Linked DNA regions of Homo sapiens: region 2 is linked to region 1. Evidence: promoter capture Hi-C in 16 types of primary human blood cells and fetal thymus (Javierre and others, 2016). All regions are on one chromosome and are shown on one strand. The core of a region is centred on a gene start or on the middle of the fragment in contact, and the rest is flanking DNA. Distances in the headings are between cores, read along the strand shown.

Evidence for each region. Contacts are between HindIII fragments. The CHiCAGO score rates a contact against its expected background, and 5 or more counts as called.
Region 2: the fragment with the promoter of MCM7 here is called in contact with a fragment that was not itself captured in region 1 in 1 of 17 cell types (total B cells); the score reaches 6.4 in total B cells.

Annotation. Positions count from the first base shown.
Region 1 is chr7:100,366,520-100,372,222 of GRCh38, reverse strand. It overlaps PILRB (paired immunoglobin like type 2 receptor beta), which reads right to left. Exons shown (of 4, transcript NM_178238.4): 4 at 4,392-4,874. The coding sequence ends at 4,846. STAG3L5P-PVRIG2P-PILRB (STAG3L5P-PVRIG2P-PILRB readthrough) reads right to left here. Exons shown (of 17, transcript NR_036570.1): 17 at 4,392-4,874. It also overlaps a transcript of PILRA not described here. Among named protein-coding and RNA genes, the nearest start is that of PILRA, 4.1 kb to the left of the region's middle. RefSeq lists enhancers at 1,068-1,819, 5,429-5,508. The HindIII fragment of the contact is 2,485 bases long and covers 937-3,421 here.
Region 2 is chr7:100,099,588-100,105,222 of GRCh38, reverse strand. MCM7 (minichromosome maintenance complex component 7) reads left to right here and starts at 3,826. Exons shown (of 15, transcript NM_005916.5): 1 at 3,826-3,959; 2 at 5,130-5,209; 3 at 5,470-5,634. The coding sequence starts at 3,929. AP4M1 (adaptor related protein complex 4 subunit mu 1) reads right to left here and starts at 3,580. Exons shown (of 15, transcript NM_004722.4): 1 at 3,451-3,580; 2 at 3,255-3,343; 3 at 2,442-2,548; 4 at 2,263-2,359; 5 at 1,704-1,814; 6 at 1,531-1,611; 7 at 1,069-1,131; 8 at 283-349; 9 at 125-178. The coding sequence starts at 3,508. RefSeq lists enhancers at 3,502-3,551, 3,574-4,126, 4,472-4,631 and a silencer at 4,262-4,361. The HindIII fragment of the contact is 6,263 bases long and covers 1-5,635 here.

The DNA of each region.
Region 1 (5,703 bases), core at 930-3,429:
TTCTCTGCTTCACAACATTCTGAGGTGACACATTATCTCCATTCAACCCACAGGGAAACTGAGGGACGGGGGCTTTGGGCTGAACTGGTCACAGCTGGAAAGATGGGCTGCAGAGAGGACAAGGGACCCCCTGGCTGTCTGGGCAGGGCCTCGAGAGGGTGGCCCGCCCCACCTGAGGACCTGGCTGAAAGGTCACCTGCTTACCAGGCTGTCCAATGTGGGGGCCACATAGAACTTATAGCCAACAGCCTCTGGGTAGCTCTGGAGGGCACATGCTGCCCAATGCTGCCACGTGCAGTCTCCTTAGATGCAACATGCATGTTTATGTCACTTTCAGGCCCTGGATCCAGCTGAACCCCCATGGGAGATTCCTTCTGTGTCAGGATTTCTGCTCTGGGATGGTGTGAGGTCTCCTGGATTTGTTCATCCTCCCTCCCCCAACAGCAGTGACAGAACCTGGGACTGAGCCTGGGGCTGTGGCTCTCTCACAGACAGGGCTTCTGAGAGGAGGAGGAGGGCCTGGAGGAGGGCATGATTCCAATGTGGGCAGAGCCTAAATGCAGCCCCTTAGTGCAGGTGCTCATGGGAGAGGCGTGGGAAGTCGTGTGTGGGGAGCAGGGGCAGGGAGGGGGTAAGTACCCTGCACCGCATTATGAGAACCACTGCTTGGATGTCCCCACATTCCCCCAACAAGTATCCTACTGTCCTCACTGGCCACATCCGTCCCTGCCCCCAGCCCCTCACCTCTCCTTGGCACCCACCGTTCCTGCTTTCCTCTGATCCCAATCGACATCCCATAGGCTTTGTGGAGTTCACAAGCCAACTGTAATATTCTCACAGTAATTCAAAGGACCTAGAATAGCCAAAAGGCCTTTACAAATGAAGAATGAAGGTGGAAGATTTATAATACCTGACTTCAAGACTTGCTGTAAAGCTTCTGTAATCAGGCTGTACTGTCCTCAAGGTACTAGAGTGTCCACAGACTGGAGTGTAGGGACGCGATCACCATCACTCCTGGGCTGAAGCAATTTGCTGACCTCAGCCTCCCAAGTAGTGAAGACCACAGGCACACACCACCACACACGGCTAATTTTTTTTTTTTTTTGAGAGATGGGGTCTCACTATGTTGTCTAGGCTGGTCTCAAGTTCCTGGGCTTAAGCAATCCTCCTGCCTCGGCCTCCCTCAGTGCTGGGATGACAGGTGTGAGCCACCTCACCAAGCCCCACTGGATTGCTGATATTCTGGCATCTTGGACCTCCAAGAGCAGAGAGAGGGACTGCCCCTGCCAGAGCCAGCCAGTTGTTAGAGCTAGCAAATGACCCCTCTGAGAGTGTCCCTTTTTTTTTCTGAAACAGTCTCACTCTGCTGCCAGGCTGGAGTGCAGTGGCACGGTCTCGGCTCACTGCAACCTCCACCCCTGGGTTCAAGCGATTCTCCTGCCTCAGCCTCCCAAGTTGCTGGGATTACAAGTGCGTGCCACCATGCCCAACTAATTTTTGTATTTTTAATAGAGACGGGGTTTCACCACGTTGGCCAAGATGGTCTCCATCTCCTGACCTTGTGATCTGCCCACCTCGGCCTCCCAAAGTGCTGGGATTACAGGCTTGAGCCACGGCTCCTGGCTGAGTGTGCCTTTCATATGCAAACCAGCTAATCCAGGGCCCCAACACTGAACCAGCTCTTCTAGCTGCCTCTCACCCTTCAGAAGGCAGTATTTCTCTGCCTTCATCATCCTGGGCCAGACACCAAATAACAAATGACAGCCTCTAATCCCCAGAGCCTGCTAACGTTATTCTAACTAGCCAATCCTAAACCTGCATACCCTTCCTTGCCTTTTCCAGGGAAAGCATAACAAAGGGTCTCACCCCTGTGTTCCCTTGGCTTCCTCTACTCCCTGAGGGACCCTGGTGCTTTCCCAAGTGGCCCTGCATGGCTGTGTCTCTCGTTTCTGGGGATCTGTGAGGATACACTGCTTCCCTTATGACCCTCATTTCCATGGCCATACCTGATGGAAAGAAATGGCAGGTGCATTTTGTTTTATTATTATTATTATTTTGAGACGGAGTCTCACTCTGTCGCCCAGGCTGCAGTGCAGTGGCACCATCTCGGCTCACTGCAACCTCTGCCTCCCAGGTTCAAGCGATTCTCCTGCCTCAGCCTCCCGAGTAACTGGGACTACAGGTGCCCACCACTATGCTCACCTAATTTTTGTAGTTTTAGCAGAGATGGGGTTTCACCATGTTGGCCAGGCTGGTCTTGAACTCCTTACCTCAGGTGATCCACCTGCCTAGGCCTCCCAAAGTTGCTGAGATTACAGGCATGAACCACCGCGCCCTGCCAGCAGGTGCATTTGATTTATTTTTATTTTTTGAGACGGAGTCTCGCTCTGTCACCCAGGCTGGAGTGCAATGGTACAATCTCGGCTCACTGCAACTTCCACTTCCTGAGTTCAAGTGATTCTCCTGCCTCAGCCTCCTGAGTAGCTGGGATTACAGGCACGTGCCACCATGCCCGCCCGGCTACTTTTTGTATTTTTAGTAGAGATGGAGCTTTGCTATGTTGTTCAGGCTGGTCTCGACCTCCTGACCTTGTGATCTGCCTGCCTCAGCCTCCCAAAGTGCTGGGATTACAGGTGTGAGACACTGTGCCTGGCCCAGCAGGCGCATTTTAAAAGAGCTTTTAACTCTCTGGACAATCCCAGGAGGTAGGCAGCATCTCTGTATGGTCCTCAATTTATACAGAAAGAAACGGAGGCCCTGAGGGTGGTTCTGAGCCTAGCCTGAGGTCACATGGCCCAGGAACGTCCACTGTGGCATCAGGTCTGAGCTTGGGGCCTGTGCGGCCAACCACTTCCCCATTCAGTGACATCAGCCAGCAGTCCTCTGGGCCTCTGTGACAACCATGCTTCCCTTTTCTGTGTTGTCTTCCTTCTGCACAGGGAGGTGCTTGAGGGCTGGGGCACTGGCTGGTGTAGCTTTGGGTCCTTGTCACCCAGTGCAGTGTGCCTGTCACCCAGGGCAGTTAGTGCTGACCAAATGCGTATGGAGAGGGTGGAGGCATCTTCAAGGGGTGGGGATCAGGTGACGATCATTTTCAGTAGAGATGGGGTTTCACCGTATTGGCCAGGTTTTTTGTTTTGTCTTTTTTTTTTGAGACAGGCTCTCTCTCTGTCACCCAGGCTGGAGTACAGTGGTGCAATCACAACTCACTGCAGCCTCAGTTGCCACCTGAGGGCTCAATTGATTCTCCCACCTCAGCCTCAAAATGTGCTGGGATTACAGTCATGAGCCACTGTGCCTGGCCCAATCATGCCTTTATAATGAAGCCCATAAAAACCCAAAAGGGATGCAGAGGGCTTCTGGATAACTGAACTCATGGAGCTTCCTAGAGGGTGCAGTGCCTAGAGAAGACACGGAAGCTTTGCACCCCTTCCCCCAGGCCTCCCTCTGTGTATCTCTTATATCTGGCTGTTCATAACTATCCTTTGTAATATCCTATATCTTTATTTTGAGACGGGGTCTCGCTATGTTGCCCAGGTTGGTCTCAAACTCCTGTGCTCAAGTGAACCTCCCCCCTCAACCTCCTGAAGCACAGAGATTACAGGCATGAGCCATGGCGCCAGGCCCTATAATATCCTTTATAAGGGGACACATGTAAGTAAAGGGCTTCCCTGAGTTCTAGGTACCATTCTAGAAAATTAATTGAACCCAAGGAGGGGATCATGGGAACCTCAATTTTTATAGCCCTGTGTCAGAAGCACAGGCACCACGTGAGCTTGCGACTGGCATCTGATGCTGGGGCAGCCTTGTGGAACTGAGCCCTCAACCCGTGCGATCACAGGAAGCAGCCAATTTGCTGTAGTAGCCGTGGCCAACACACTGTCTCTGACAGTGTTCTTGCCCCTGCCCACTCCTTCTTAACGATTCCCTCTCAGCCAGGCATGGTGGCTCACGCCTGTAATTGCAGCTATTTGGGAGACTGAGGCTGGAGGATTGCTTGAGCCCAGGAGTTTGAGACCAGCCTGGACAACTTGGTGAAACTCCAGTACCACTAAAAAATACAAACATTAGCTGAGTGTGGGGGTGCACGCCTGTAATCCCAACTACTTGGGAGGCTGAGGCATGAGAATGGCTTGAACCCAGGAGGCAGAGGTTGCAGTGAGCAGAGATTGCGCCACTGCACTCCAGCCTGGGTGATGAGAGTGAGGCTCTGTCTCAAAAAAAAAAAAAAAAAAAAAAAAAGATTTCCCTTCTTAAACTTGCTTCCAACTGCTTTAAATCTGTGAGTGCCATCTGTTTCTAGTGGGGAGGCTCCCTGCATCATGACTGGACTCAGGTACTGCAGAGCAGGAAGGGGCACTTGGCAGCCATGTGGGAGATGCACAGGGAAGTGTCAGCAGCATTTCACGCTATTTATTCCCCAAAACCTTCTGCCATAGAAGACAGCCACCATACAGATTGGAAAATGTGGACGAGGAGAAAAGGGGTGTATGGTAAGCAAAATAAATTGTATTTTTCCATCCTTGGGGAGGATAAAGGAACTCTTTGCACTGCTATAATAAACAGCCCCCAAATGCCAGTGGTTTAATTCAGTGGAGTTCAGACCTCATTCCTATATCATTGCAGTGTGGATGCTCCTGGATGAAGGCTCTTGTAGGTAACTCTCCTCCAGTCGGTGATTCAGGGACCCAGCCTCCTTCTGCCTTGCGGCTTTGCCTTTTAAAGGTCCTCAGGGTGCTCTCCATGTATCTTGCCAATGGGGAACGAGTGTGGAGGACTCACAAGCGGGTCTCACATCACGTCCTCCGGGGCTAATACACATCCCTTCTCCCCACACTCTGTTGGTCAGAAGTCACTGCTTGGCGCCCTGCTACCTGCAGGAGGGGAAGTGTTTTTAGATGCAGGGCCAGGATTATTAGTGAGGCAGGCGAGGCAGTTGCTTCAGAGATCAGATTTAAGTGGGAGGTGGCAAAAACTCAGGAGAATTTGTGGCAGGCTGGGCTTGTGGGGTTCTTAGCAGCACAGTCCCTGATTTCCAAACCCGTCCCCTGCCCGCACCTGTACTCCCCACTCCCTTGGGGAGGCCCAGCACTCAGCTGGCTGGGGTTGTGGCTTTAGTCCGCTGCTGACGTGTAGGGGGACCAACAGTGAGTCAGGGTGGCATCCAGGTGATAGCAGTCTCCATCCCACCTTCTCTGCTGCGCCCTAGGCTGAGGCCCTCCTTAGAGGGACCAGAGCAGCAGATCAGCTCTGCCCAAACCCATCAGGAAGGGCCTGGGACTCAGCTGGCACCCTGAGGCTCCCCCCCGACCTGTTCTCCCTGTTGTCCACCACGTCATCTCCTGAAACCGCCCCCGCAAAACCTTGCTACCCTCTGTTGGCTTCCTTCGCTCTTGAGCTCTCTGCTCAGCCCCAACCTGGCTCCCTCTATCGCTGAGCCCTCGCCCACCCATCTCTTCCTTCCCTCCCCTTCCCTTGACATAGGCACCCCCACCTCTCCCTCCAGGTCCTCAGGGAGACCGCGCCTGTGGTTTCCTTCTGGGTGGCGGCTGTGTCTGCCCTCCAGCCTTGGGAGCCTCATGCTTGGGACTCATGTTTGTGGCTGTTCAAGTTCTGTTGCCACCTCTAGGCCTCCCCTCCCCTCTGGCTGGTCTCACCCTGAATCCTCTGCTGCCTCTCCCACTGTGCCCTGCCCCTCTTGTC
Region 2 (5,635 bases), core at 2,577-5,076, 270 kb after region 1:
GAGACTTCTCTCCTGACTCCTGTTTTGGGAGAGGAGCAAGGAGAGGGGAGGCTCTGTCTGACTTCTCTCCATGAACTCTGGCAATGACCTACTCCAAGGGGAGAAAGACCCACTTTCTCCTCACCTCTCAGCTCTGACTTCCCCACACAAAACTCTTCCGTCAAGCCAATGCGCATCTCTGTCGGAGGAGAGACCATCAGGAGAGCTCAGCAATGCCATGGTTTAAGACACCAAGGAACCCGCCCTAACCCCAACCCTTGGTCCTGCCTGCAGATGCCTCACCAGAGCCGCTAGGAAGGAAGCTCTTGAGCCGAATCTCTCCCTGCACATCCACCTTCAGCAGGGATCCCTGAGAGGCAGGGGCGTCAAGGTTAGAGTCTTTTTTTCTTTCTTTTTTTGAGACGGTCTCGCTCTGTCGCCCAGGCTGGCAGTGGCGTGATCTCGGCTCACTGCAACCTCCACCTCCCAGGTTCAAGACATTCTCCTGCCTCAGCCTCACAAGTAGCTAGGGTTACAGATGCCTGCCACCATAAGTAGCTAATTTTTGTATTTTTAGTAGAGATGGAGTTTCACTGTGTTGGCCAGGCTGGTCTCAAACTCCTGACCTTAAGTGATCCACCCACCTCGGCCTCTCAAAGTGCTGGGATTACAGGCATGAGCCACTGTGCCCAGCCTTTTTTACTTATTTATTTTTTTTAAGAGACAGGGTCTTGCTCTGTCATCCGGGCTAGCGTGCAGTGACTCGATCTTGGCTTACTGCAGCCTTAACCTCCTGGGCTCAAGTGATCCTCCTGGCTCAGCCTCCCAAGTAGCTGGGACAGCAGGTGTACACTACCATGTCTGGGTAATTTGTTTATTTGTATTTTTTGTAGAGACGGGGTCTGGCTATGTTGCCCAGGCTGGTTTCAAACTCCTGGCCCCAAGTAATTCTCCCACCTCGGCCTCCCAAAGCACTGGGATTACAAGCATGAGCCACTGTGCCCGGCCGTTGCTGGGAGTCTTAGCCACCCCACCATGTTTCCCAAGTCCCATCTGTCCTCAGCTCCAGGTTTGGGAGCTCAAACTTACATTAGATGCTATCAGTACAGACAATCTCTCGACCACATCCAAAAAAACTTCATTCTTTTGGCTCTGAGAAAGAGAGAGAATTTGGGTGGTTGGAAGCAGAATAGCCTATGTTCTGAAATGGACAGACAGGGAGAAAGAACAGGACAGTCAAAGCTACAGCTCTAGGGTGAGGACATGGGTGATGGAAGGGATCATCTCCCACCTCCACCCACATCTGGGGGGGTGGGAGATGTGCCAAGATCTTTTTCTTTTTTTTTTTTTTTTTTTGCATTTTTAGTAGAGACAGGTTTTCACCATGTTGGCCAGGCTGCTCTGAAACTCCTGGCATCAGGTGATCTGCCCACCTCGGCCTCCCAAAGTGCTGGGACTACAGGCGTGAGCCGCTGTGCCCGACCTAAGATCTTGGACTCCCGGATCCCAGAGCAAAACCAGAGCGTCTGACCCCATGGATCCTTCCCTCACCTGGTCAGAGCGACTGGACAGGACGGGGCGGCTGGCTGCACTGCTGGGGGCCACTTTGCTCTGTTGTGTCTCAGCCCCAAACTGTAAAGCATCCAAAGCAATCAATCATCAGGTCTGACAACCCCAGCCAACCCCTCTTCTCTTTCCTCACCCTCCTCTTTCCCTCTACTGACCAAGCCAACGCTGCTGAGGTCAAAGAGGCTGAAGGGCTTGCTGACCACAGCTTCCGTCTGGATGAAATTCCTCAGCATCTCCGTGGATGTGGTCTGTACATAGCCATAGTCCTAGTGGTAAAGGAAGGACAGTCTGAGTGATCAGTGGAGGGAAGGGGTAAAGAGGGGGAGTGGGGCCAGGCATGGTGACTCACTCCTGTACTCTCAGCGCTTTGGAAGGCCGAGACGTAGGAGAATGGCTTGAGGCCATGAGTTCAAGACCAGCCTGGGCAACACAGTGAGACTCTAGTCTCTACAAAAAATAAACAATTAGCTAGGCACAGGGGAGGCTGGGGCAGGAGGACGGCTTGAGCCCAGGAGTTCCAGGCTGCAGTGAGCTATAACTGCACCACTGCAGTCCAGCCTGGGCAACAGAGCAAGACCCTGTCTCTAAAAGCAAAAAAAAAAAAAAAAAAAAAGGTAGACTTGGCCTCCTAACCACGGCATCCCACAGTAGAAGAGCAGATGTATCTTCAGGGGAATTGGGTAGGGGCCACAGAAGGGGATTGTTGATTCTCACCAGCACTTCATCCAGGAGTTCGTATACCAGAGCCACATTGCGGGAGATGGTCCCCTCGCCCAGGGAGCCACAGTAATCGCCCAGAAGGGTGGCCAACCTGAGGAAACACTTGGAGCGTGTATTTTCTCCTCCTCTCAGACCCCTCCTAGCTACCAGGTGCCCAGCCCAACCCTCCTCACCTGGAGAGCAGTTCTAGGAGGCTGAAGGGAGAAACGTTTTCTGAAGTTGTGACCACCAAATAGAGGCCGCTGTGTCTGATGTGAATGAAATGACGGCCATGGTGATGCTGAGACACAGGCAGGGAGAAGAGAGGCGTTAAAAAAAGGGAGGTGGAGTGATCAGAACCCAGGAGACCTGAGCTCGGATCCCGATGCCTCTTACTAGTCACAACAGCAGTGCCTTTGGGAGATACATGACATATGCCTGGGCCCAGCTTCCCAATGTGGAAAGGGGGTTAATTACACTAACTACCCCGAGTTGCTGAGGATGGAGTCACGCAGGGAGCTGGGCCTGGTGTGTTGCTGGCGCCCATTGACTCTTTTTTTTTTTTTCCCCACCCCCACCTACCCCGAGAGGGAGTCTCGCTCTGTCTCCCAGGCTGGAGTGCGGTGTCCGGATCTCGGCTCACTGCAACCTCTGCCTCTTGGATTCAAGCGATTCTCAAGCCTCAGCTTCCCGAGTAGATGGGATTACAGGCGCCCGCCACCACGCCCAGCTATGTTTTTTTTTTTTTTGTATTTTTAGTAGAGGCGGAGTTTCACCATGTTGGCCAGGCTGATTTCGAACTCCTGACCTCAGGTGATCCGCCCGCCTCGGTCTCCCAAAGTGCTGGGATTACAGGCGTGAGCCACCGCGCCGGGCCTCACGTTAGCTTTATTTGGCGGAATGCACCCCCCAAGTGGAATCTACCAATGAACCAGTCCTGGGAGGGAGCTGGCGCCCACCCGGCCCGACGGGACCCCGCTCCTCACCCGCCTCCCGCCACTGGTTACCATGACAACCGGGGACTCGTCTCCTGGCAGTCCCGTCAGCTTCCGGTAGAAGAGCTCGGCCACATCCCGGCCGCCACTGTCCCCGCGGACTGGCGGGTGGAAGGACTCAGTGAAGGATCCTGCGACACAGGCTGGCCCTGGGCGCCCCTCCCGCCCGGCCCCTCCGCCCCTTCCCAGCCCCAAGGGTCTAGGATACAGTCTTTGTAGATGAGCGGGTCCCCCTTGGAGGACAGAATGAAGAATTGGGAAATCATGGCCGTTCTGGAGAGTAGACAAGAAGACGGCGAAAGTCGGGCCTGCCCCGCCCTGCGGCCCCGGAACAAAAGAACGCGTGTGCGCTGGCCCTTTAAGAGCGATTCTCCTCCGCCCGCGCCAGCTCGGACCGCGGGAAACCCGGCGCCTGCACTACCCCGCCCGGAGATTCCCTTCCGACGCCCGCACCGCCTCCCCGTCACTCATTCTAGGCCCGCACGGTGATTGGCTTGCGGCTAGCGGGAGGTGAAGAAGGCCGCCTTGTCCGATTGGCCCGCACGCAGTGGCGCCGGTCACGTGGGGGGCGACGTTTCGCGCCAATTTCGGTTGGCCGGCCACAGTCCACCGCGCGGAGATTCTCAGCTTCCCCAGGAGCAAGACCTCTGAGCCCGCCAAGCGCGGCCGCACGGCCCTCGGCAGCGATGGCACTGAAGGACTACGCGCTAGAGAAGGGTACGGGTCTACGAGCCCGGGAGGGCGTCCTGCGCGGGGAGCCTCCCGGGGAACACCTGTTGGTGTGAGCTGGGGTCTTGGGGGACCGGGGTCGGCGGGTTCTGGGGTGCGCGAGGCCAGAGGCAGGGTCGAGCTGCGGCCTGGCTAAGGCCCACGGGGCCTGGGAAGCGTGCGGGGGGCCATCGATGTTGAAGAAAAGCTAGTAATCCCACCTGGTAAAGGTGTTAGGGTCGTGGGGTTGGGGGCTTGGGGGCGCGCTAACCCGGCTGGGGGCTGCACAGGGAAAAGTCGCGCCCAGGACCTCAGGAGAGTCTTAAGGGCTCTGGGCTCCCGTGCCCGCTTTCCTTCGCGCTTTTGGGCATTCCCAGGTTCCCGCGCCCTCCCCAGGCGCGCGTAGGCCCCGGGGGCGGGCAGGCCGGGGCCGCTGCGCGCCGGGATTGGCCGTTTGAGGCCGCCCTCCGAGCGGAAGTGGAGCCGGGCGGAAGTGGCGCGAGGAGGCTGGAGGGAGTGTCGTGTAAACAGTGTCCTTCCGCGCGGCGGCCGCGGAGAGAGCTGCGGCCCGGGGGGGCGTGCCTGGGATCCGGAGCTTCGCTCGGGCCCGGGAAAGGCGGCAGTGGGCTGGGATCGCGGTGTCTCTGGGTGTGATGGCCAATGGCTGGACTGGCTCCCGCCCTGGGCGGAGGAATCCCGAGCTGTGAAGCGGCTGGAATCCGGGCCCATGTGCTTCTTTGTTTACTAAGAGCGGAAGCGATGGCGGGAGCGGGGGTGGGGTGCGGTGGCGGGGTGCGGTGGCGGAGGTCCCGGTGAAATCAGGGGCTAAGGGGACCCAAAGAAGGCGGGGGATCATAGGGGTGGAAAGAAAGCTGAGAACCTTGAGACCGGAGTGTGAGGGGCCAACGGGGAAGGGCGCTAGAATTTTAAACTAAAGTAGGGACCGGAATTCCCCTGGGGAGATGTTGGATGGCCCTGTGCACTGCCACGGGCTCTTTATTCTTCGCTGGTTAGAAACAGACTTGTGAAAAAGAGTTATGCCCACTTTGGGGAGACTTCGGTAGGTTTATTTAAATGCTCATATTATTAATTAGTTCATAGGTCGTGTTTTAAGCGAAAATGGGTATCTAAGATTTGTCTTAAAGTTTGTGTCTTACGGTTTTACATTTCATGTTACAGAAAAGGTTAAGAAGTTCTTACAAGAGTTCTACCAGGATGATGAACTCGGGAAGAAGCAGTTCAAGTATGGGAACCAGTTGGTAAGTCTAAGATTGGGTAAAGGGAATGGGGAGCGGGGTGCTTAAGGAGCCATAAGCAGCAGCTTGGCTTGTTTTATTAAAGACATAACAATTAGAGGGTTTGAGGGCTGAAAAGCGAGTATCGCTCTGTGTGGCGCTGCGTTCTCCCCTGTGGATGCCCAGAGCCTGTGCTGAGTTCTCAGTGATGCATTTTCACATATGAACACTGGTGAGCAAAGTGAATGTGGCTCTGAGGTGTTTCTGTCTCTTCCCCACTTGAGGTTCGGCTGGCTCATCGGGAACAGGTGGCTCTGTATGTGGACCTGGACGACGTAGCCGAGGATGACCCCGAGTTGGTGGACTCAATTTGTGAGAATGCCAGGCGCTACGCGAAGCTCTTTGCTGATGCCGTACAAGAGCTGCTGCCTCAGTACAAGGAGAGGGAAG